Linked DNA regions of Homo sapiens: regions 1, 3 and 4 are each linked to region 2. The links are contacts of gene promoters, found by promoter capture Hi-C in blood cells and fetal thymus (Javierre and others, 2016). All regions are on one chromosome and are shown on one strand. Each heading gives the region's core, a stretch centred on a gene start or on the middle of the fragment in contact. The rest is flanking DNA. Distances are from core to core; before and after follow the strand shown. Region 1 holds the start of ORC2 (origin recognition complex subunit 2). Region 2 holds the start of ALS2 (alsin Rho guanine nucleotide exchange factor ALS2). Region 3 holds the start of CASP8 (caspase 8). Region 4 holds the start of CFLAR (CASP8 and FADD like apoptosis regulator).

What was found. Contacts are between HindIII fragments. The CHiCAGO score rates a contact against its expected background, and 5 or more counts as called.
Region 1: a contact is called between the fragment with the promoter of ORC2 here and the fragment with the promoter of ALS2 in region 2, in 1 of 17 cell types (neutrophils). The highest score is 6.7, in neutrophils.
Region 3: a contact is called between a fragment that was not itself captured here and the fragment with the promoter of ALS2 in region 2, in 1 of 17 cell types (erythroblasts). The highest score is 6.5, in erythroblasts.
Region 4: a contact is called between the fragment with the promoter of CFLAR here and the fragment with the promoter of ALS2 in region 2, in 3 of 17 cell types (monocytes, total B cells and neutrophils). The highest score is 5.4, in monocytes.

Annotation. Positions count from the first base shown.
Region 1 is chr2:200,961,948-200,967,252 of GRCh38, reverse strand. ORC2 (origin recognition complex subunit 2) reads left to right here and starts at 3,593. Exons shown (of 18, transcript NM_006190.5): 1 at 3,593-3,763. LOC105373835 (a long non-coding RNA gene) reads right to left here and starts at 3,821. Exons shown (of 3, transcript NR_187976.1): 1 at 3,623-3,821. RefSeq lists a silencer at 3,184-3,582 and an enhancer at 4,291-4,360. The HindIII fragment of the contact is 10,169 bases long and covers 1-5,305 here.
Region 2 is chr2:201,777,779-201,783,603 of GRCh38, reverse strand. ALS2 (alsin Rho guanine nucleotide exchange factor ALS2) reads left to right here and starts at 2,671. Exons shown (of 34, transcript NM_020919.4): 1 at 2,671-2,727. RefSeq lists enhancers at 2,312-2,381, 2,392-2,621, 2,632-2,701 and a silencer at 2,832-3,001. The HindIII fragment of the contact is 4,023 bases long and covers 704-4,726 here.
Region 3 is chr2:201,257,853-201,263,868 of GRCh38, reverse strand. CASP8 (caspase 8) reads right to left here and starts at 3,333. Exons shown (of 9, transcript NM_001372051.1): 1 at 3,256-3,333. RefSeq lists enhancers at 5,029-5,448, 5,469-5,528, 5,525-5,669, 5,629-5,758 and a cis regulatory region at 5,597. The HindIII fragment of the contact is 954 bases long and covers 4,290-5,243 here.
Region 4 is chr2:201,114,438-201,120,268 of GRCh38, reverse strand. CFLAR (CASP8 and FADD like apoptosis regulator) reads right to left here and starts at 4,105. Exons shown (of 10, transcript NM_003879.7): 1 at 3,788-4,105. It overlaps LOC105373836 (a long non-coding RNA gene), which reads left to right and starts at 3,585. Exons shown (of 3, transcript XR_923785.3): 1 at 3,585-5,325. RefSeq lists silencers at 142-201, 3,620-3,829 and enhancers at 1,310-1,679, 1,318-1,821, 2,170-2,219, 3,860-4,119. The HindIII fragment of the contact is 6,122 bases long and covers 3,070-5,831 here.

The DNA of each region.
Region 1 (5,305 bases), core at 2,344-4,843, 820 kb after region 2:
GCTGAGGCTTTATTCCAAAGTTTGGTAATGCTAAAATTGATCAGAAGCTCAGCGTGCAGGGACTAGCTTATCAGCTAGTAGGTGTCAGCGTAGGTCTATATTAATAAACTGGCTTTTTCAATTGGGGCCTCCTCTCTTTTCTGATTAGCTTGCCTGAAAAAGTCTTTAAATTTAATGCCCAGGGGATATATGACTCATTGCCAGCGTTCTGGGAGCCAAGTAAGACGAGGTCCTGAGCTTATCCTCCCCATTTCAGTATGACCTCATTTCTACTCTCAGTTGTGCCTAGTGGTAGAGTCTAGATCCTCTCGGTTCACCTTATAATCTCCTGGTCCTCCACAAAGTATGACAGGAGATCTAGCATCTAATTGTTTCAAGACTCCCAACCAATCTTCAGTCTCAGCTTCATACTCCATTTTTTTTTCCAACCAATCCTCCAGTCTCAGCTTCATGCTTTTTTTCTTTTTCTTTCTTTTTTTGAGACAGAGTTTCGCTATAGTTGCCCAGGCTGTAGTGCAATGGCATGATCTCGGCTCACCGCAGACACCGCCTCCCGGGTTTAAGCAATTCTCCTGCCTCGGCCTCCCAAGTAGCTCAGGTTACAGGCATGCACCACCAAGCCCAGCTAATTTTGTATTCTTAGTAGAAACGGAGTTTCACCATGTTGGTCAGGCTGGTCTTGCACTCCTGACCTCAAGTGATCCACCTGCCTCGGCCTCCCAAAGTGCTGGGATTATAGGCATGAGCCACCGCACCAGACCCATGCTGCTTTTAACGTATTCCTGAGACTACCACCTGGAGTTCTGTGAAAGGAATAGGCTTCTTACTGGCTTCCCCCTTTCAGGCCTGGATTCCAGCTAACCAACTTATGTTAACCTGTTTTTCTATTCTGTTAATTTTATGTTTACTAACTTCAATAAAAAATTCTGATTATTATTTTACTGGTATTTAAAAAGTCTTCAATTCACCCTGTTTCATAGATTAGATTTTTAAAAGCCAGTCCCTAAATTTCAAACTATTACCCAATTAGCTGCTTGTGCCTCTACTCTTATAGTATTGAGCTTCTATTTCCCCCTTTGGAACAGTCTACTTGCCCTGCGCAAAATTTCCGTGAATACATGGGGAGTTGCCATTTTATGGTCCCCTCTGACTTCAGCTTCCTGCTGCTCCTAAATCCTGTGTCTCCATTCTGAAGGTATGGCTCTTTGTTTTTATCTTAGTGTCAACCTAAAAGCAAAACTCAGCTCCTTCCCTCTATTTTCCACACATATACCATAAAAACTACATCCAAACCCACCACTCACACCAAGGCCTCTGTGGTCTGTAGAAGCCTTTTTTCAAGATGTGAGAAGGAGAGGAATGAAGGGGAGTTTACTGACATCATAGAAATATAAAAAAACAGCCAGGTGCAGTGGCTCACACCTGTAATCCCAACACTTTTGGAGGCCGAGATGAGTGGATCACTTGAGCTCTGGAGTTGGAGACCAGCCAGAGCAATATGGTGAAACCCCCACTCTACAAAAAATACAAAAATTAGCCGGGTATGGTGGTGTGCGCCTGCAGTCACAGCTACTCAGGAAGCTGAGGTGGGAGGTTTGGTTGAGAGCAGATAGTCGAGGCTGCAGTGAACAGTAATGTTGCCACTGCACTCCAGCCTGGGCGGCAGAGGGAGACTGCATCTCAAAAAAAAAAAATTATATATATAAAAAACACACATAAGTTGAACATATCTATTCAACATTCCTAGATCTTCATCTTTTTTTCAAATTTCTTTTCTTTTTTAAGAAATGGGGTCTCGATGTGTTGCCCAGGCTGGAGTGCAGTGGCTATTCACAAGTGAGATCACTGCTCACTGCATCCTGGAACTCTGGGATGCAAACAATCTTCCTTTTCTCAGCCTCACAAGTAGCTGGGATTACAGGTGTGTGTGCTGGGCTAGTCATCTTCACATTTTTAAACACTCTTCAAACACATCATTGTTAACTGTTGAGCTATGTTCTCTTTATCTTCTGTCTCTAGTCACTCCCCAAATTCTTATTTATAATGCACAAAAAATTGCCTTTCTCTTCCATTTTCTTAACTCCACCTAGCCAAAATGGAATAATGAGGTATCAAGGCTATGATCATTTCTTTCTCAACTGGATTTCCTAAACAGCTCCCAAATCTTGTGACTCTATATCTTCCCTCCCAATCCTACCTCCTTTATCCAAAGATCTTTCAATACAAATCTGACCAGTGCCCTAAGGGCCAACTAAGCCCTTCATAATAACAGACCCAATGCTTGGCATTTTACACAGCTGTTACACGGATTTGGACCTTCTACCTGGAAAATTTTACCCCTCTTGGCCTGTTTTAAATCTATTCAACACAGGGGTTTCAGTTTAAACATCTCTTCCTCCTAGAAAATTGTTCCTGACTCCTTCTGGGCTTTTAATTAGCTACTCCTACCATGTGCTCCAATGCACTTCCCATATCATGGTATTTTTCTCAATATTGTCCGTTCAATATCTTCACGTGCTAGGTAACTACAGTGAATGCAGAGATCGTAGTTGTCTCGCTCGATAATGAATACTTATCTTCTGTTCGCAGAGTACTCTGTAGTTTTGTTTTGAGTAAGTGAATCCAAATGAAACAATACCCTGTTCTTAATACTGTATGGATCCCATCCAGGTTCATTCCTTTTCTTCCTCATTTTCTCTGTCTTGTCTTTTTTATATTTTGGATAGTTGAAGTCAATCATTTTCTCTGTCTATTCATTCTATTTCCCCAGCCTCTTCATCCCACTAGCCGTCCGATCCCATCTCCATATTCAGTGCTTCTCCTAACGTCTCTTCTTCTCCCTACCCCAAACCCTGGAGATGTACAAGATCCTACCTTTCACGCCAAATGAAGAAAATCTTTAAAAAAGAAATGCGAATCAATTTCCATTACCTTTTTCTTCAAAAGGTAGCTGGGAAACCAATGAACACTTTTTTTTTTTTTTTTTTTTTTTTTTGAGACGGAGTTTCGCTCTTGTTGCCCAGGCTGGAATGCAATGGCTCGATCTCGGCTCACTGCAACGTCCGCCTCCCGGGTTCAAGCGTTTCTCCTGCCTCAGCCTCCCGAGTAGCTAGTATTACAGGCATGCGCCACCACGCCCGGCTAATTTTGTATTTTTAGGAGAGACGGGGTTTCTCCATGTCGGTCAGACTGGTCTCGAGCTCCCGACCTCAGGTGATTCGCCCGCCTCGGCCTCCCAAGGTGCTGGGATTAGAGGCGTGAGACACTGCGCCCGACCCCAAAGAACACTTTTTAAAGATTGCTACAAGACAAACAGCTACCACTCAGCCAGCTACTGTGCAAACTTCCTCAGATCCAAACAACACTTCCTTTTCCCTTCCCCGGAAACGGAAAGAAGAAAGGAAAGGTAAGGCCCACAACTCAGGGCCCAAGAATCCGTTTTCCTCAGGTTTCCTGATGGGCGGGGCCGAATGGCCGGCGCCGACTGGACGGCAGAGCCGTCGCTCTTGGCCGACTCCTCTTCCTATTGGCTTCCTCGGGCACCGCCCCCTGAACAGGGCGGGAGATTCGGTGTGCCGCACGCAGGCTTCCCATCCCCCAGCTGGCCTCCGGTGCTCCTTACCTCCCCGGTGGTCGGGCGCGAATTACTGGAAATTGGCTTTTCCCGTTGGGGCCGAAGGTACCTTCCCTGCGGCGGCGACTCAGCGGGGTGTCGTTCGGCCGGCGTGACGCAGCCGGATCGGCGCCAGACGGAAACCTAGCGGTGAGTAGTGGGGTGTCGGGGCAGCCTGCCTCCCTTTTCTGCTTAGCTCGCGGCGTGTGAGGTGCGTCCAGGTGCACCCAGCCCCGCGTCGGAGCTTGGCCCCTAGCGTCCCAAGTCGCGCATCTCAGGACTTTCCCTCGGCACTTGGGGCATGGTCTTTGCGCCTCGCTGCCCCCCGCAGGCTGCCCGGGGGCTCGAGAACCCTTACTGGTGGAGCGCAGCCAACTGGCCAGAGGCTGGAGGCGCAGGCCAAAGTCCTTTAAGACTTGAGGTGAGAGGCTCACTCTGGGAGGACCTTTCGTTAGTCTGCCCCGCAGTTATAGGCCTTTTGTGCAAGGGACGCCTGATACTAACCTACCTGATTCCCAGCTTACGAAGCCCTCTGGTTGGAAAAGGAGAACTGTGAAGATGTGTAACGACAGTGGTAAAGTGCCCTGTGAGGTATGAAGAGGAAGAGATCGCGTCCCAGAACCACTGTAGCTAGAACCTTTGATGTCATCCCAGCCTGGAGGCACCAATGTGTCCTGCCAGCTAACTGATCGGTCACCTTGGAGCCATGCTTGGCTGTAAAATGTTGATAAGCCAGGCTCTTTTGGTAGAGCTTTTTAATTAAAAAGATGTTGAGACGTTACTTTTCATTTTACAATTGAAATCCTAATAGAATCATTACACTTTCCCGCAGTTAAATTGCAATCTGAAGAAAAATAGCACGGCCCTACACCGTTATATAAGGGCACTGCACGTTAAACGGACATCATCACTTATTGAGCAGTTTTTCTGTTAGATGTTGAATGAGTTAGAGATGTACAAGAGATCTGCATGGTTAAGTTGAAGTTTAAAGTAAAAATATCTCAGTGCACTGCAGTAAGGAGCTAAAAAAGAAAAAGGTTAAAGTAAAAATACCGATAATTGGGAGCATTCAGTGATGCTCTTTTATATATCAGGCACATCATTTCATTTAATCGTCAGGACTTTGGACAAAGTCACACAGTTATAAAGTATGGAGTGGAGATTGGAACTCAGGTTTCTCCAATATTAAAATTGGTGTTTAACCACTAATCTATCCAACCTTCTTTTTCAAAGGATTATGTTTTTAAAAATTACAGCAAATCTTTTATTTGTTTTCAAAGGAGAGTGTGTTGCTACCACTTGGTGCAATGCTAACACTTGGTGCTGCAGAATTGCCTTGAAGTAACTCCTTGAAAGGGGTTGGCCTATAAGCACCAAGGCAGTGCCTTGAGGGGTCATAATGGTCACTAAATATTGCATTTTATTGTGTGATTGTTAGGTTTTTTTGTTCGTTTGTTTTTCAGGAACTGTTGGAAAGCAAAGAAGGAAACGTTTCTCATGAGGTCTTTGTAGACATTTTCTTTAATTTGGTGATTTTGTACTATTTAATAAGATGCTCCAAAATTAGAAAAGGAAATGTTTGTATAAATGCACTTGGCTACAAACAAGTCTCAGGCTGCCTCTCTCCAGGCAATTCTTGTGTAGAATACCATAGGGAAATTGCCTAGGACAATACTCAGTTGCCTAGAATAT
Region 2 (5,825 bases), core at 1,422-3,921:
TTAAAGATGAGATAGATAGCAGGTTTATACACTGTAAGTATATAGGAATAAGAAGACAGGCAGAGGTTGAAAATACATGAAGGAGAAGGGATAAGTAATGGAAATGTAAATAAAAAAATGAAATTCTTAGCCCCCCCAACCAACTGAATAGATCTCCCTCCACCCTCCTTGGCCAAGGGGATCCTAAAGAAAACCTTAAAAACTAGTTAAGGCCATGATGCGAAGGCAGGTTGGACATACCTCATTATATCCTCTCCCTTTGGAGTTTAGACCAGCATTAAAGTGGTCTAAACCATTTTCATGAAATGAAAATAGAGATCATAAGACTGACAAAATAGACTCTTGTAGCAATAAGATTATCCAACTCTAACCTGACTATGGTATAGCATTACAAGACAGATAGTTGGCCCTGAAGAAAATAAAAATATTTTACCCCAAAATATATTTCTTTGACATATTTTGAAATGACCCTGCAAAGCTGTCTCTTGTGGGGGGAATTTGCATTTTATACAGAATCACTTTCCTTTTTCAGGTCTTTTCTTGATCCAGGAGAGATTTAACCAAGAGTCTGACACATTTTAAGGTCCTATAACATATGCTACCTGGAAGCTTCATCTACGTAACAAGAACCTTGGCTTCTATAACCCCCTTCATTTTAACTCAAATATTTCTTTCTGCTAACTTCAACTCTTTAGGAAAAGCTTAGCTTTTTCAACCCATCATAAAGTCTCTGAATCCACCTATAATCTGTGAGCACCACCGGCCCCCCATGTATTGATCTATGTCTTTGCCTATAACTTCTGTCTCTCTAAAATGTATAAAACCAAGCTATAACCCAACCACCCTGGGCACATGTTCTCAGGACTTCTTGAGGCTGTGTCCCAGGCCATGGTTACTCATGTTTCGATCAGAGTATATTTAACCTCTTCAAATATTTTATAAAGTTTGTCTTTTTTCATCAACAGAACAAAGTCTTTCCTTTGGGGAGATTAGGGATCCTGAGTTCAGGATCTTCTAAGAAGAAAGAGGGAGAAGAAAAGGACTCGGTGAAAAGGAGCCGGGGCTCGGTGGCTCGCGCCTGTAATCCTAGCACCTTGGGAGGCTGAGGCACGTGGATCAATTGAGGTCAGGAGTTCGAGACCAGGCTGGCCAACATGGTGAAATCCCATCTCTACTACAAACACAAAAATTAGCCGGGCGTAGTGGCGGGCACCTGTAATCCCAGCTATTTGGGAGGCTGAGGCAGGAGAATCGCTTGAACCTGGGAGGCGGAGGTTGCAGTGAGCCGAGATCGCGCCACTGCACTCCAGCCTGGGCGACAGATCGAGACTCCCTCTAAACAAAACAAAACAAATCAAAACTGGTTGCAGGTAGGTTTTGTGGTAGTGGCTGATGGGATTTGGGATTTAAGGAAATTCACCTCTAGTGGTCTCACTTTCCTCAGAGATGTAAGAGACAAAATTTTTTATTTTTATTTTTACCAAAGCGGGTGAGTGAGTAGAGTTCAGTAAGAGGTTAGAAGAGCGTGAGGGCTGGGAACAGCAGGGGAGGGGAATAGGAGATAATCTGAGTAGCAATGTGTAAATGTGACTGTCTTAGGCTCAGCAATATTGCGTAGTCGCACGTGGAAGTCCCGACTGAAGTTGGACACTTTTCGTTCGCAGTGGTGCCAATTCTCAGGGTTGTGTGATTTTCTGCACCGATGCAGGAGTGAGCAAGGTTGGTTGAACTGTTGCAGACTAACAGTTTTGCAGGTGGGCGAAGGATCAGGGAGGAAATTGAGTTGAGGGTGTTGGTGAATAGGATATAGGAGTTTCAGAACCCGACTACACATCTGTCGTTGATGGTCTAAATATTTGCATGTTTGCAGGTCCAGCGATGGCACAATGCCTAGCAGCAGAAGGTTTGCACCCACTGTGCGACATGAGTGGCAGCTCTGGAAAATCATAAAATCATGGGAGGACTTGAGAGTGCAGGCTGGGTGGGGTGGGACTGTGGCTGCGAAAAACAGTGTTATGAAACTGTGCGCGGGACAAGAAAGCTGATTTTACTGATTGTATATTGGGGAGTACTACGGGAATCACTGGAGAGGCCACTTCATTTTCTCCTATCCCACCCCATCTTTTGGGGTTGCAACTAACCAGTAAGTTTACACATTGAGGATACAATGGCGAAACGGGGCCGCGAGGCGATGACGTCATTCGCGGGAGTAGGGGGGAGAAGCGACCACTGTTAGGGTACTGTCCATAAAGGCAATTTGAAAATATTTCAGCCTTTTTACTTTTATACTTCCGGCCCTTGCAGTTTGAGGTGGTAACAAACGACTGCTGCTCCCAACCACTTTCACCACCGCCTGTTACCATGGGAGCGCTCGGGTAGCTAGGCTTGGACGACTCTATTCTACGTCATCATCAAAGCGCATCTCAGGACTGATAGCTCCGCCCTAAACTAAGGGAGAGACTGTGCTCCCAAGTACGTAGCCTGCAGTGCCTAACGCATTCTCAGCAATTTTGACCCCCAACAGACGCCGTCGACAGTCTCCCAAGAACAATTCCCAGGAGCTCGGATTCCAAGAGCCGCCCGCGCCCTCGTTTACCTTCGCTAGTCGCCCTGCAGCCCCGCCCTGTCCGGAGGCCCCGCCCTCCATGAATCAGCTGATCCCGCGGACCCACTGGGTTGCCAAGCTCGCGCCGGATGCGGAGCGCGGTGCTGCCGGTGGAGCTTCAGGTGAGCGAGTGTGGGTCCCGGGTTGGCTATTGGCTAAGGAGGGCTTATCGGCTGGGACCCCTTGTATGCGGAAGGCCGGGGACAGGGAGCTAGGCGGAGGCTGTGGTCGAGGCCGGAGAGCGCCCTGCGGGGGGCCTGCGGAGACGGCGCCCGCATTTTCCCAGCTCTGGGTGCGATCGACTGCTCCTGCCGGTCCAGCAGCGCCCGAGGCGGCCCCTGCCTTGGCCCCAGGTTCTCCCACTTGCCCCGGTCTCTCCCTCCCCAGACTGGGCGCCGCTGCAGTGGTCTCAGCTGCGTGAAATTCCTTCAAGCCCCCTCTTCCCGCCTCCACCCACGCTGCCTTCCAGCTATTCATTCACGAGAATTTCTTGAATGCCCACACTAGGCGCTGAGCTGATAAACTGGGGTCCGTGGCCTGGAACCCTGCTGAGTGTCCCTGGCGGCCTTGCCACAGGGTGCAAATCGCGTTGAAGAGTGGACCAAGGGCTACTTGAAAAGGCGGTTGCGGAGAAAGAAAATAGCTTTGATAATAAGAATTAGTAGTTTAGGCAAGTCTTTGAGCCTATCAAGTAATTCATCAAGAGGAGAAGATAAGTTATTTTGAGAAGCGAAGCCAGAAAAATAACACAGGTCCTTGACGCTGGTGTTCGTCCTCGGATAATAGGGCTGCTTTGGAGACAGGCAACAGTAGACTGGTAGAATCGTTCTATTGCTTAAGGCTTTGATGGTGGAAGAGAAAAAACACTCTTGTTGAAGTGGCATATCCAAGAACAGTGCTTTCTTTCTGGTTTAGGATGGAGAAGGAACTGACTGCTGTACCCAAGTGAAGATCTTTACTCAGTTACCCTTATATTTGGCTATATGGAATAAAATTGTGTGATATGTTTATTCTGAGCAGGTACAAAACTTCAGCAAACCTATTGGTCCCACATTTTCCCCCCCATTTATCATATGATTTGGAGTGACCGGTTGACCTTTGAGTTAATGAATAATTTAAAGCAGTGAAAAATTTTTTGCAGTAAACTACGGTGTTTTAACCTTGATAACATAAGCATAGTGGTTAAGATTCTAGGCTTTGTATCTGAACATACCCAGAGTCACATCCATTTACATCTTTGATTTTGGGCAAGTTATTTAATCTCTCTGCCTCAGTTCTCTTGTCTCTAAATTGGGGATAAAAATGTTTTCCTGATAACAGTACCTTTACGTGTAATGGTTCATGTATCGTATTTATTACAGTGCCTGTTTTATGGTAAATATTCAATACATATTAGCTGTTTTTATAATTAATTCCTCCCACTACATCATGATCCAAACTGACTCTTTTCTTAAGTGATGGGGAAGGGAACTGAATATTTTAAGGAAGTAGCTATAAAATATGATTTCAAGTTGTTCTGTAGTAATTTTGGTGTTCCATAAGGACATTTTAATGTGAAAAAGATACTGACAGAATCTATACATGGTTTGAATTTATTAGTTTCTAAACTATGACCAGTATTAGCAGATTTAAAATTCATAATTATAGCAAGAAAACGTCAAAGTTGTTTAACAGTGTTAAAATTTGAAACTGTAATGATCCAGAAAAATGAAATACCAAACCGATAATTTTGGGAAAAAAACAAAACTTGAGTGGCATTATGCAGGCCATTTACTTTTTAAATGTACTCAATATAAACAGGAATCCCTTCTCTCCAAATTTCAGTTTTTCAGAATTTGGGCTGTCATTTGAAACACTTACTTTGGGCACTTTGACTGTTAAAGAAGCAAAGGGTATGCTAAGAACTTCAATGAGTCTTGATGTTAGTGTTTTTGTAATTAGGTGGAATCTCCTACCTTTTCATGAAAACTGGGTTTAAAGCAGTAGCTGCTGGGTCCATTCTAATGATAATCTCAAAAATGTGACTGACTTGTAAAAATCTACAATTATTTATTAATGTGAGACTAGGTAAAGTATGAGTTGAAAAACTAGGAAGAAAGGCAGAGTGGTGATTTTTAAGCTTGTATAAAGGAAGGCCCGCTTTGGGTACTATGAGGTACCTTTCTCACTCAGAGGCATGCTGTGAGGATTTGTGACTTTTAAATCATTTAGCTCTTTTTATAACTTTGTGGAATTAAATCTACCACGTATTTCAAGTGTATTCAGGATATGAATTTTCCTGGTAGAGAGTTTTAACAGATTTTTTTCTCTTAACCCTTCATTGATGACCAAACAATTTTGTTGTCTGTAATAAGAAAGTACTCGGTTTTGTAGGGTGTCAGTCCTTAAGAAAATGTTAGGTAGTCATCAATAAAATAGCAACAATCTCTGGCTTGTTTCTTTTTCATATTGCATTTAATTTTCCTTTCCCTGTCTCTTATTCATCTGTATATGTGATGGTGCTTTCTTTAGCTTATGTCTTGATGTTTGCCTGCATGTAGCTGAACTGATTGATCCAGGTGGGTAGAGGAAAAAATATTTAAATTGGTAGTTTTTGGAGCTATTGTATATTTCTTTCAAATTTGAAGAAAATTTACAGTTTTCTCAATACCTATGAGAAAAAGACTGGGGTTTGTTGGCAGAGTTTCGCTTAGCTGCTAGTGAATTATGTCCAGAGAGAAGATCAGCTTTCATCTCATTAATTCCACAAATTGATCATCTCATGTTTCCCTTAATTATCACATTTTAAATATTTTTCTTTTGAGTCATCACACAGTTCTTCAGTTCACATGGCCTCCCTATCAGGAAGGGAGTGGTTTAGACCCAATAATGGCATTTGGGTGGGCTAACATTCACTCCAGGATTTTTTTTTCTTCCACAGCCTAAATTTTTGTAGAGCCAAGATCTTAACTAAACTTGGGGCAATTGGCTAAGCAAACATATAACAAGGATGATTATAGCAGCTCTTTAAAAGAGCAATAAAGTAGAGCAATCCAACTGTAAAGATTAGTGGGGAAATGGATAAACTGGTTTATTCATGCAATTCAATACTATCTTCTCATAAAAATGAATGAGCTAGATCTATACTTACCAACATATATACATCTCAAGTATGTAATACTGGGTGAAAAAAGCAAAATGCTAAAGGATTTATACAGTAAGATGCATTTGTGTACACTTT
Region 3 (6,016 bases), core at 3,517-6,016, 520 kb after region 2:
TTATTCTAAAACATATACCTAGTTAAAATCTTTATTTAAAGATCCATTCTTATTCACATGCTGGAAAAGATCTAAACTAGATCTAACCCTGTTTAGTGCCATTAGGTCAACTGTCTTTACAATTTTTAATGCATTCTAACCTCTGTTAAAGTCTCATCTTACAGAATAAAACCAACCAAAGAATCAAATGAAAGCAGGACTTCCTTTCCCCCATCCCTCAATTATTTTTTTCTGAGGATAACAATGCTTAGTGTATTCATTTTAGACAATACAGAAAAGATAAAAAGGAAAATTAAAATTATGTATAATTCCACCATCCAAATATAAATGCCCAGTAATATTTTACTCTTTCCTACCAAATATTTTATGCATACACATTTTTCCTTATATTTGAACACATCATATTTCTGTAGTATAAGTGGATTTTTCCACTGGTAAGTACATCTTGTATTGTAAGTACTTTCCTGTCTTTAGTTTTTCTTCTACAGCATGGGTTTTAATATCTGTAAGGCACTTAATCTTAGAGATGGGCTATAATTTACATAGCCAGTTCCTGATTACATTTAGGATGACTTTAAAACGCAAATCTTTAAGAATACCTCTAATTATTTTCTTAGAATAATTTCCTAAAAGTAGTATTATGGTGTCAAAATGAATAAACCTTTTTGAGGCTCTTGTTACACATTCAATAGCATTTTCTGACAGTATATAATAAAAATCAATACAATCCAAGGCTGAGATGACATGAATTTGGATATAATAAGATTGGCGCATAGCTCCGTCCTCCATAGCCATCTCATCTCACTCATTTCATTACCTTTTCAACAACGTGACAATGCTTTTTAAGTGGTTTCCCCATCAAATCATAACTGACATTTAGAAGGGAAAATGCTAACGTGGCTTCTTCTCTGGCCTAGGTGTTCCAGGATACACTGTCAGATGATAGTCAGCCTTTTCTGTTTTTTGTTTTTTGCTTAAGTTACACATCCCTCTAGTCATAGTACCTAGAAAACAGTCACTTGCAAAGGATTTATGACACCATTAACAACGGGCCATCCAGCACTGTAAGGGGAGAGACATCGTGTGGCAGTTCTTGTTTTATGGGACCTAGATTTTCTGCACTAGCTTATGGGCTAGAAACTTTGTTAAGCTAGTATTTTTTAAACAATGTACTTGTATTTTTGGTTCCTAAAAACAGTAAAAGTAACACTTGTTTCATAGAGAAAGTACAGAGAAGTATAAAAAGAAAATAAAAATTACTTAAAAACTTGCCATTTGGAAGTAATTCTTTGGTCACATTTTGTGGCCTTTTCCCAATTTTTTTTCCACATGTATATATAACATATGTAAATTTGAATATGTTGCCATGTAATACATATATTTTATATAATCTCTGCTAAATAGTAAATGTATATAAGTCTATTTGTATTACATAAGTATATTTATTATTTTATATATTTATGCCCCAAAGTATTTAAATATAAATATGTGTTTATAATAATCATATAAATAAATGATATATAAATGTTTGTAATCTATATATCCATATAAACATAAAAATATTTTTTAACCTCATTTCACTAAAAGCCTCTGAAGAAACTACTATTACTGTCCCCATTTTTCTGTTGTGAAAAATCACGGCTTGGAAATAAGCTAGTAAGAGAGAGAGCCACAGCCAGATTTAAGTGTCTCACTCAAGGGCTTCAGTGACAGATCACAAAGATTTAGACGTCATTCTACTTGCAGCTGGAAGGCAGTGAAAGAATCTCATGAAGAAAAACATAAAATCATAACTTTTTTAGAGAACAACATTTCAAAAAATTTTATAATAACAAAGCCACAAAAACAGAAGTTCTTAACAAATCCACTATAGGAGAGGGGGTTAGAGCCTCACAAAGGAAGTGCTAGAATCTAGGCCCCAGCATCTCATTCCAGAGTCCCATTCTACCACTGTATTACATGTCACAATTAAACTGTAAATACATTCCATCTCATCACAATCATTCCAGTAATATTCTAGCAGCATCCTAGCTCTTGCAGTGATAACTAAAAAGCAAAACATGCATTTGCCATCGGAAGCAGAAACCTGCATCTCATCCGAAGCTTGAGAGAACCTGAAAGCCACTCGCTCTCAGGCCCAAACCCCTAACCGGCAGGTAGTATTGCCACTCCCTCCAATCCAGGCTGGCTGCCTCAGACTGCGGGCTGCCCCGGAACCTGACAGACATCCATTCTGCACGCACATGATGTCCATAACAGGGCGCTGCAGCCACGGCATTCAAACAACCCAGCAAAGGTGTCCAAACCTCAGCAAAACATATAATCCCATCATTTTCAAACAGAATGAAACTTGCAACTTCACCTGTAAATTCTTAACCCCACAAGTGCAGGTCTCTGATTGTGTCTATCTAGTCTTCCCATTATATTGTTTTTTGAACTGTTCTGTATCTTTTTAATTTTTTTTTTTTTTTTTTTTTGAGACGGAGTTTCGCTCTTGTTGCCCAGGCTGGAGTGCAGTGGCACGATCTCGGCTCACCACAACTTCCACCTCCCAGGTTCAAGCGATTCTCCTGCCTCAGCCTCCCGAGTAGCTGGGATTACAGGCATGCGCCATCATGCCCGGCTAATTTTGTATTTTTAGTAGAGACGGGGTTTCTTCATGTTGGTCAAGCTGGTCTCAAACTCCCGACCTCAGGTGAACCACCGCCTCGACCTCCCAAAGTGCTGGGATGACAGGCGAGAGCCACCACGCCCAGTCTTTTTTAATTTCTTTAAAAAATAAATAATTGAATTAGTAGGACCACATGGGTGTGTTTGTGTGTATGTGTGTGTGCGTTTATGTTGGCAAGTGTGTATGTTGGTGGGTATGTGTGTTGGTGGGAGGATAGCTGTAGCAGCAAAGTCAGTAGAGATTTAAATTTTGGCTTCTATTATTTCACAAGTTTGACTGGGATCAGGATGAGGCCTTTATACAAGTAGTTAAACTTGCAGCATTTCAGAAGCTCCTAGGACTTCATCAGTCTAAGCTAGAATGGCCTTCAGATCTGGAAACTGCACGGCCCTCGGCAAGGCTCTCAGAGGGACTGCTACCTCTTACACTAACTTCATGGTTTCCCCATCCACACTCACATACGAGGATCACCTCCATGGCCCCAGGGCCACCCGATCTCACTCTCAGCAGCCTAGAAAACTCCAGAATCAAAGGCCTTCCTCCCAAAAGGCCCCTCTGACCTTAACAAAGAGGCAAATCCTTACCTTACTCTCACGATGGTAGCACCTTCGTCACAGGCCTATCCACTACCATCTGAGCATCTAAGACAAGAGCAAACGTCTAATGAAGGACGGAAGGGCACAGCCAGCCAGCTCTACTTCCTGTTTCGAAACTCCTGAGTCACAAACACTAGAGGGGAAAGAGCGCTTACCACTTGCCCCTGAGTGAGCAGAGTGCCTTCTAAAGCTTCTAAAGCTGCAGGAAAAAGGCCTGGTGGTCCAGGAGACCGCACGCAGGGCACCTGGCCACCTGAGCACTGGCCCCTGGCTGTGACTTTGGATGGGCCATTTTACCTTTGGGGCCTCATTTCCACATTCCAAAACAAGGACGTTGGACTGGATTGTAACTAAGAACACTTTCATTTCATATTTAGGATTTAAAGATTTTTCTGGGTTCATCATTAAGACTTTAATTTTTTCATTCAATGAATCTTGATGGAGCACCTCAGAGAGGTCTTGAGATTGGACACTGCAGAGCCCTCTCATCTTGGTTCTCAGGGTGGCTGTGAACTTTCAGAGCTAAAGCCCCTGGTTTAGCCAAGGAGCATCTCTGTGGCCCCAAGGTCACCAGATTCCACCCTCAGCAGCCTAAAATACTCTAAAATTAAAAAAAAAAAAAAACTCTAAAAAGAAAAAACTCTAAAATGAAAAACCTCTAAAAAGAAAAAACTCTGAAATAAAAAAATTCTAAAATGAAAAAAATCTAAAAAGAAAAAACTCTAAAATGCAAAAACTCTTTGGTAAGATGGTAAGTCCATCTTACCAAAGGTGATCCTTGTATATGAGTGTAGCTGAGGAAACCATGAAGTTAGCTGAAAGCTGGGTTTACCATCTTATCAAAGAAGCAAATCCTGGGGCCCTCACCATGTTGGGCTCTAGGGATATACCAGTAAACAAAATATTGCCTTCATACTGAGAGTTAGATGAAATGTTTTCTGATATTAAAAGTAGGAAAAGAAAATCAAACACCTCTCTTCTTTGAAACTGCCTTTTGTCTTTCCCCAAATAGAATATAAGCTTTCAGAGGGTAGGGACTCATAGCTGAGAAGACTGAACGAAGTATCTGAAAAGGACTCTTCACCAGAGAGGGCTAGGTCAAGATGGCCTCATAATATCAATGCCTGGATGGCCACCGTGGCTCATGCATGTAATCCTAGCACTTTGAGAGGCCAAGGTGGGAGGATCCCTTGAGCATAGGAGTTTGAGACCAGCCTGGGCAACAAAATGAGACACCATCTCTATGAAGAAAAATTTTTTAATTAGCCAGGTGTGGTAGCACGCGCCTGTGGTCCCAGCTAATCTGAAGGCTGAGATGGGAAAATTGCTTGATCCCAGGATGTTGAGGCTGCAGTGAGCCGTGATTGCACCACTGCACTGCAGCCTGGGTGACAGAGCAAGACTTTGTCTCAAAAAATAAATAAATAAAAAAGAAATAGAAACAGAATGAGCAAAATAAAATACCAATAGTATTAATATGCAATAATAATTGCTAACTCGTGTAGTAAGTGATGTATGCGTATTATCTCCTTCAAGCCTCACAGTCACCTCTGGAGGCATTATTAATCATTTAATGATGAGATAACAGAGGCACAGAGGAATTACTTGCCTGAGATCGCATAGTTAAAAAACAGTGTACACATACAAAAGAAAAATACATTTTGCAAAGATACAGATAAATTCACGAATCCACATCAAAACATTAGAGAACTGTCTTTGGGGAACAAGAGAGAGGGCAGGAGGGCAAGGGTGGGGGTGGAGAGATAAAAGGAAACCCTTCAGACACGGAAGAGGGGGAAGGGGCTGTGCACCTCAGGGCATCGTGATTCGACAGAATGACAGAATAAAGTACTTAACCGTCGGCCCCAGGGCCAAATGAAAAAGAAAAAAAAGTGGATTGATAAAGTCTTCTGGACTCTCCAAACGGGTCCACAGGAGGGAGACCGTGTATCTGCATTCGAGGCGGCAGGGAAGCTTGGAGGACAAAAAGGTAGCAGAGGAACTGGAGACTGCTCAGAGTGAAAAAGTAGCAAAGTCAGAGGCAACGGCTCAGAGAGAAACCACACAGGAGACCTGGGCCAGGCAGCACCCAGAGGTGTCCTCAGAAGGGCAGATCCAAGTTGCTTCCCCACCCCCACAGCCCTGTTTCTAGAGCAAGTCAAGAAACAAAAATATTGTGGTTTCCTGTTGAAGAGGCCACCTTGGCAACAGGCACTCACCCGCTCCACCCTTTCCTGGCACCATCGCAGTCTCCGAGTCCCCTAACCTGCCTAACTCCACGTGCTCAGCAGGGAAGGGGGTGGGAAAGGCTCCCAGGAAGAAGTTTCTTTTACTTTCAATAACCACCCTGGCTCTTCTGCCTCCCTCCATGGCCTCACTTCCTGTTGAGTTGACTAGCAAATTCAGCAGGGCTTGAAAAAAAACACAAAAGATAAAAGGAGGAGAACCTGTGAAAACACTTCCCTCCAGCAGAAAGGCAGAATCTGGTCTCCGAGAGAAAGAGAAAACTTCACCACAGAAGGAACTGCAGGGTAAACTTTACTCCTAAAGCAGAACAGAGATGACTCACTCGAACAAGAAATGTTTCCTGTTTAAAGGAACAGATGCCCAATTTCCAACCATTCAGAAGAGGGATGTGGCAGACAATTCATGGACGTGCAAACTAAAGCCCGAGCGCTGGACATGCTTTATTGGAAAGCATTTATACTGACTCCATTTAGTAATAATAACCCCTGTCGGTGGCAAGTAA
Region 4 (5,831 bases), core at 2,856-5,355, 660 kb after region 2:
GGCTGCAGTGAGCAGAGATAGCACCACTGCACTCCAGCCTGGGTGACAGAGTGAGACTCTGTCTCAAAAAAAAAAAAAAATGTAGCTGGGTGTGGTGGCACACACCTGTAGTTCCAGCTACTCCAGAGGCTGATGTGAGATGACTGCTTGAGCCTAGAGTTAGAGGCTGAAGTGAGATATGATCACCACTGCACTCCAGCCTGGGCAACAAGCAAGACCTCATCTCAAAAAAAAAAAAAAAAAAAGAAAAGAAAAGAAGGCCCCACCTTGAATCTTTTTTAGAAAAAAGCAGGTTGTAAATAAACACAATTTTAAAAAATGAAATATCTTGCAAACTAGAAAATAAACCAAAAAAATTGAGTGTTTATTTTTAAAAATATGTAAAAGACTGTATTTGAGAGCGCACATGTGTGAAAAAAAAAAAAAAAACATTAAACTGAAACCTTTGGTTATCTCTACGGAATGAACCCCTGGAGGTTTTCTCTATTTACTTTGCATGTATTTTAACTCATAATTATAATACAACTTGACTGAAGAGTGTCTGAAGAAAATGCATTACAGTACAGAATGTTAGGTACAATCCTGAAGCAAGTGCAAAGACAGCCGCTGAGCATATGAAAGTACAGAGAAAGGGCACCAGGGTGGGGTGTCAAGTCTTCTGAGGGGAGATGACAGGAAGAGAGTATAAGGGAGAGACAGGGCATTCCAATAATGATAGTGCTTTTCACCTCACTGATCTATAGTAAGAAAGAACGACCGGGTTCTGCAAGTTACCTGGGCATACTAAAAGAAAAGACAAAACAAACAAACAAATAAACAAAAAGAACCCATGGTGTCATAACTGCCCCACCATGGCCCACAGGCTTCCTCCAGTCAGGCTGTCAGTGGATCTTGTCTAAACTGCCTTGACTCGAAGTTACCTGTGTAGGTAACTGCTGAGTCTTCCTCAACCACATTGTGAGGTTATGGGGACAAGAACCAAGTTTAGATCCATTTCTATGTCCTCGGCACCCAGAACTCTGCCTGGCCCAGAGAAGCTCAATAAATGTTGGTAGGATTATACTGAATTAAAGGCAAGGAGGCATTGGAGTCCATAAACACGAGTTTAATTAGCCCCTGGGGCTCTACAGGGAAGAAATAATCAGACTTCAAGGGTGCCCCATTCCCCAGAGTCCATTCCTGGTATTTGAAAGAGCAACATGCCCCGGAGTGTTGTGAGTCCTCTGGAGGCTCAAGGAGACCTAGGGCCAAAAGCGAGGACTCAATCCTTTTCTGCCAGTATCGGGGGACAGTGCCCCGACGTCCCAGGAGCCCAGGGCGACACCAGCCCAGGGGCGGGGATCGGGCAGGATTCTCGGTCTACTCACGCCCGGGCAGCCGCCGGCTCTTCCCACTGGATCTCCGCCGGGACCAACTCCCACCCTCGCCGGACAAGCTCAGACCTGCTGCTCCGCAAAACCAGAATTGGAAATGCTCCAGATGGGACGAGGAACAAGGACAGAAAGTCAAAAGCATCAACAGGTGGCTTCGCCGGAGGGCGTCCGAGAACCTCTGCCTGCTGAACCGCTTCACGCCTAATCCCCGCCACCCACCGGCTGAAATGTTACCACACAAGACATAAATTCTAGAATCCTGTCTGCGGAATTCCCCGCCCCCCGCGCAGTTGAAACTTGCACAGGGCCACTCGCGTGTCTCTGGGTGGTAAAATTCTCCATGCGTGGTCAAACGGCTTATGCATAGCTCAGGACCGTTACGTGCGACCCCACCAGGACTGAGTGGGGACAGCCGCTGCGCCCCCACCACCTACTAGGAGCTGCGGTAGGACCTCCAATGCCCCAGGGGCCTAGGCAATTTCCGCTTCAGCTTCCTGGAGGTCCCCAGCCCAAGGCTCAAAAAACTGCACACTATCCGGCCCACCCCGGGTCGCGCAAGACTTTCGGGGGGAGGGGGAAACCCAGCGACCCTGCAAATGGCTTCACCTTGGAAACCGGTATAAGGAAGCAAGTAATACCGTGTTAAAAGAAGGTCAAATGTCAGTTACAAACAGAAACGTAAAACATAAAGTCGCTAGAGAAAGCCATTTTAACGAGGACATTTGACCCAAAAGCTTAAGTAAAGCAAGTATTAACAAAACAAGAAAATGGATGTAAAGCAAACAGTAAACATTAAAAACTCCCTTTCAACCCAGTCTTTTTTGTTTAGATCTTGGAGTTGGGCCGGGCATGGTGGCTCACGCCTGTAATCCCAGCACTTTGGGATGCCGAGGCGGGCGGATCACCTAAGGTCAGGAGTTCGAGACCAGACTGACCAACATGGAGAAACCCCGTCTCTATTAAAAATACAAAACTAGCCGGGCATGGTGGTGCATGCCTGTAATCTCAGCTACTTGAGAGGCTGAGGCACGAGAATCGCTTGAACCCGACAGGCGGAGGTTGCGGTGAGCAGAGATAGTGCCATTGCATTCCAGCCTGGGCAACAAGAGTGAAATGCTGTCTCAAAAAAAAAAAAAAAAAAAAAAGATCTTGGAGCTCCAGCCAGGTTTTTTGTTCAACGAAACTTTTGTAAGGTTATTTAGGGGAATCACCAAACCGAAAAGTGCCAAAAACTCCGTTCCTCTTATCGGAAATCTCTCTCTAAAGCAGGTCAAACCTTCCAGAGCCCGCTGTCTGTTGTAGATTATCGCAGTTTGTTGATGTCCAAAAAGCTTTACTTATGCTATACGCTATCCCCCTACTGGTTTCACCCCTCATTGCTTAAGAACAAATTTCAAATGTCAACCAATTAAAATATTCGCAAGACCTCTGGCGTCCTTGAATTTACTTCCTGCCCGTGGAGCCAAAAACTGATTCTGAATTTCAGTGGCCTTTGTTCTACTGCGTGCCACTGTTAATATTAAAAGAACATGGCCTTCTGTCCAAATCCAGACACCCTCAAGCAAGAACATCTTGAAGCCAGTTTACATTTCCCAGTCGTTTTGAGGCGGTGGAAAAGTGGCAGAAACAGGTTCATTTTAAAAGGCTCTAAAAACTTTTCATTAGCCAAGCATTCCCAGCTTTCCCAAGGCAAGCTTTCCTTGCACTTGGGCAAAATAGACATTAAACTGCTCTGGAAAATAACCGCCCTGACCAGGCTATTGTGAAATTCCCTCCAGGGCGGCGGCTCCCACTGAGTGAGATCGAGCGCATACACAATTGTTGGGAAAGTCCACGTTCCCAACAACTTTCGAAAGGAAAAATGCCAGATCTTCTCAACAGTTCACCCCAAGAATTGAACTCTCAAGATCATTTTAAGCAAAGTTTACACGACGCTGAGGGCCCGCCACTGAAGCTCGCGGGTGGGCCTCTGGGGCTGCGGCTGCAGGGGGCGGCCAGAGTTGGCCAAGGGTTACTTCCGGTCTCTCAGGTCCATCGGGGTGCAGCTTGTACCGCTGTGGCCCAGGTCGCCCCTTTCTGGGAATCCGGGGCGGAGTTGCGGGTAGAAGGGGTTCGGGGGTTCGGAGCCGGGCGGAAACGGAAGCGGGGGCATTCCGCAAAGCCCGCGGTAAACAACCGAGATAAGGAACCTACAAAACTGAGTCAGGTTCCAGAAGCGCCCCCGCCATCCCCTGGCCACTGCCGGCCACCTGCAGTTTCCCGGAGCGCAGGGCTGTGAGGAGCGGCGCGGGGTGGGACGCGGGGCGCGGCGGCGCAGGGCCTGCTGCAATGCTGACTCAGGGCCGGGCGTCGGGGCTTGGGGTCTGGGACAGCTCCGGCGCCGCCAGCGCGGGGGTCGAGCGCGGGGCACGTACCGTCCTGTCGCGGCCGGACTCTCCTGCCGCTGCCACCTCAGCCTTCGCTCCCCTAGACGCCGGGAAGGCGCACCCAAGATGGAGGCAAAGAAACCGAAAGCCTGGAAGCGGACTTGGTGCTGGGCGATCGCTGTTCGCGGCGCTTCTCTCCTACACCTCCTCCCGTGGTCCTTGTTGTCTCAGCTGTCACTGGACAAAAGTCCAATAGCCGGCACTCACTGTGTGAGGCCGAGTCCCCACCCCTAGCTCCGGGAGTCCCTTTTAGTTGAGACTCGTCGGTGAGGCTGCAAGCTCGCTGTTTCCTGCTATGGCTTGTGTGACTGAGTATGCAGTAACCGGGGGTGGATGTCGACACAAGTTCCACGCGTTAGGAGTAAACACTGCGAGTGTTTTTTTTTTTCTTTCTTTCTTTCCTTCTTTTTTGAGACAGAGTCTCGCTCTGTGGCCCAGGCTGGAGTGCAGTGGCGCAATTTCAGCTCACTGCAACCTCCGCCTTCCTAGTTCAAGCGATTCTCTTGCCTCAGCCTCCCGAGTAGCTGGGACTACAGGCACGCGCCAGCACGCCCGCCTAATTTTTGTGTTTAGTAGAGACGGGGTTTCACTGTTGGCCAGAATGGTCTCGAACTCTTGACCTCGTGATCCGCCCGCCTCGGCCTCCCAAAGTGCTGGGATTACAGGCGTGAGCCACCACGCCCGGCGCGAGTGTTTACAATTGTTGTCTGGGAGTCATAGCAAACGTGAACACACTTTGTGGTTTTTTGTGTGTATGTTTTTGTTTGTTTTTTTTTGTTTTCCTTCTTGAGACAGGGTCTCGCGCTGTCGCCCAGGCTAGAAGGCAGTGGCGCCATCACAGCTCACTGCAGCCTGGATTTCCCGCTCTCAAACCATCCAGCCCTCAGCCTCCCAAGTAGCGGGGACCACAGGTGCAAGCCACCATGCCCGACTAATTTTTTTTTTTTTTTGTATTTTTAGTAGAGATGGGGTTTCACCATGTTGGCAAGGCTGGTCTCCAACTGCTGGCCTCAAGTGATCCTTGCCCGCCTCGGCCTCCCAAAGTGCTGGGATCACAGGCGTGAGCCACCGCGCCCCTCTACGTTTTTATTTATTCCTAATAACTACTTTATTGTGATTCTTAAAGAGCTTTAACTTTTCTTGAGATAATTTTAAACTCACAGGAAAGGTGAAGAATAATACCAAGAGAGACTAACAGCAGGACGGCATGAAGAGCTCGGGATTCACCCCTAGTGAAACTGAAAATTATTTAAAACAACAAACAACCATTAACCATTTAAAGCCTTTGAAATGGTCCTAAGGGCAAACAGCAAATGAAGAAACATCTGTTCCAAAAAATCTATGAAAACTCTTGGATCAGAATGTGAGAGTCAGTCTGTGGTATTTAAACCAAACCTCTCCCTTTGTTCAGCAAGAGACTCCACTCCAGACTGCTGCAACTCAGAACCTCTCTCTTCCCACAGCTCCCAGTCAGAGACCAGCATATCAGCATTTCTCATCTTGCCCCTAGCTACCTGATGCTGAAGGTAAATCCTGGGGGAGTGTGGTGGAGAGGTGGGAGATTCCTTCTTCCATCCAGAGGCTCTACCTTGGGTGGAGTGCTGAGACACCAGAGGAGACTTCAGCTCTTTTTCTCCATCACTTTCACCCCATATTCACCCCCAACCTTTTTTTTTAATCTCTCCATCTTCCCAAGATAGTTATATTCTGTTTGATTAATCTTCAGTATATATGCTATTATAATCATGTAAACGGTAGTCACAGCCAAGTTATGTACCAAACTATGATTACTTTTCCTTTCCCACACAACTTTTAGTTTTTTCTGGAGTTAATAATTGTCTTGTTTTGTTGGTTTTTCCATGTAATTCTATCCTAAACTCTGTCAGTTATCCAAGTTTGGTTTTTTGTTTGTTTTTGAGACAGGGTCTCACTCCAGGCTGGAGTGCAGTGACCCGATCACAGCTCACTGCAGCCTTAACCTCCCAGGTTCAAGTGATCCTTCTGCCTCAGCCTCCTGAGTAGCTAGGACTAC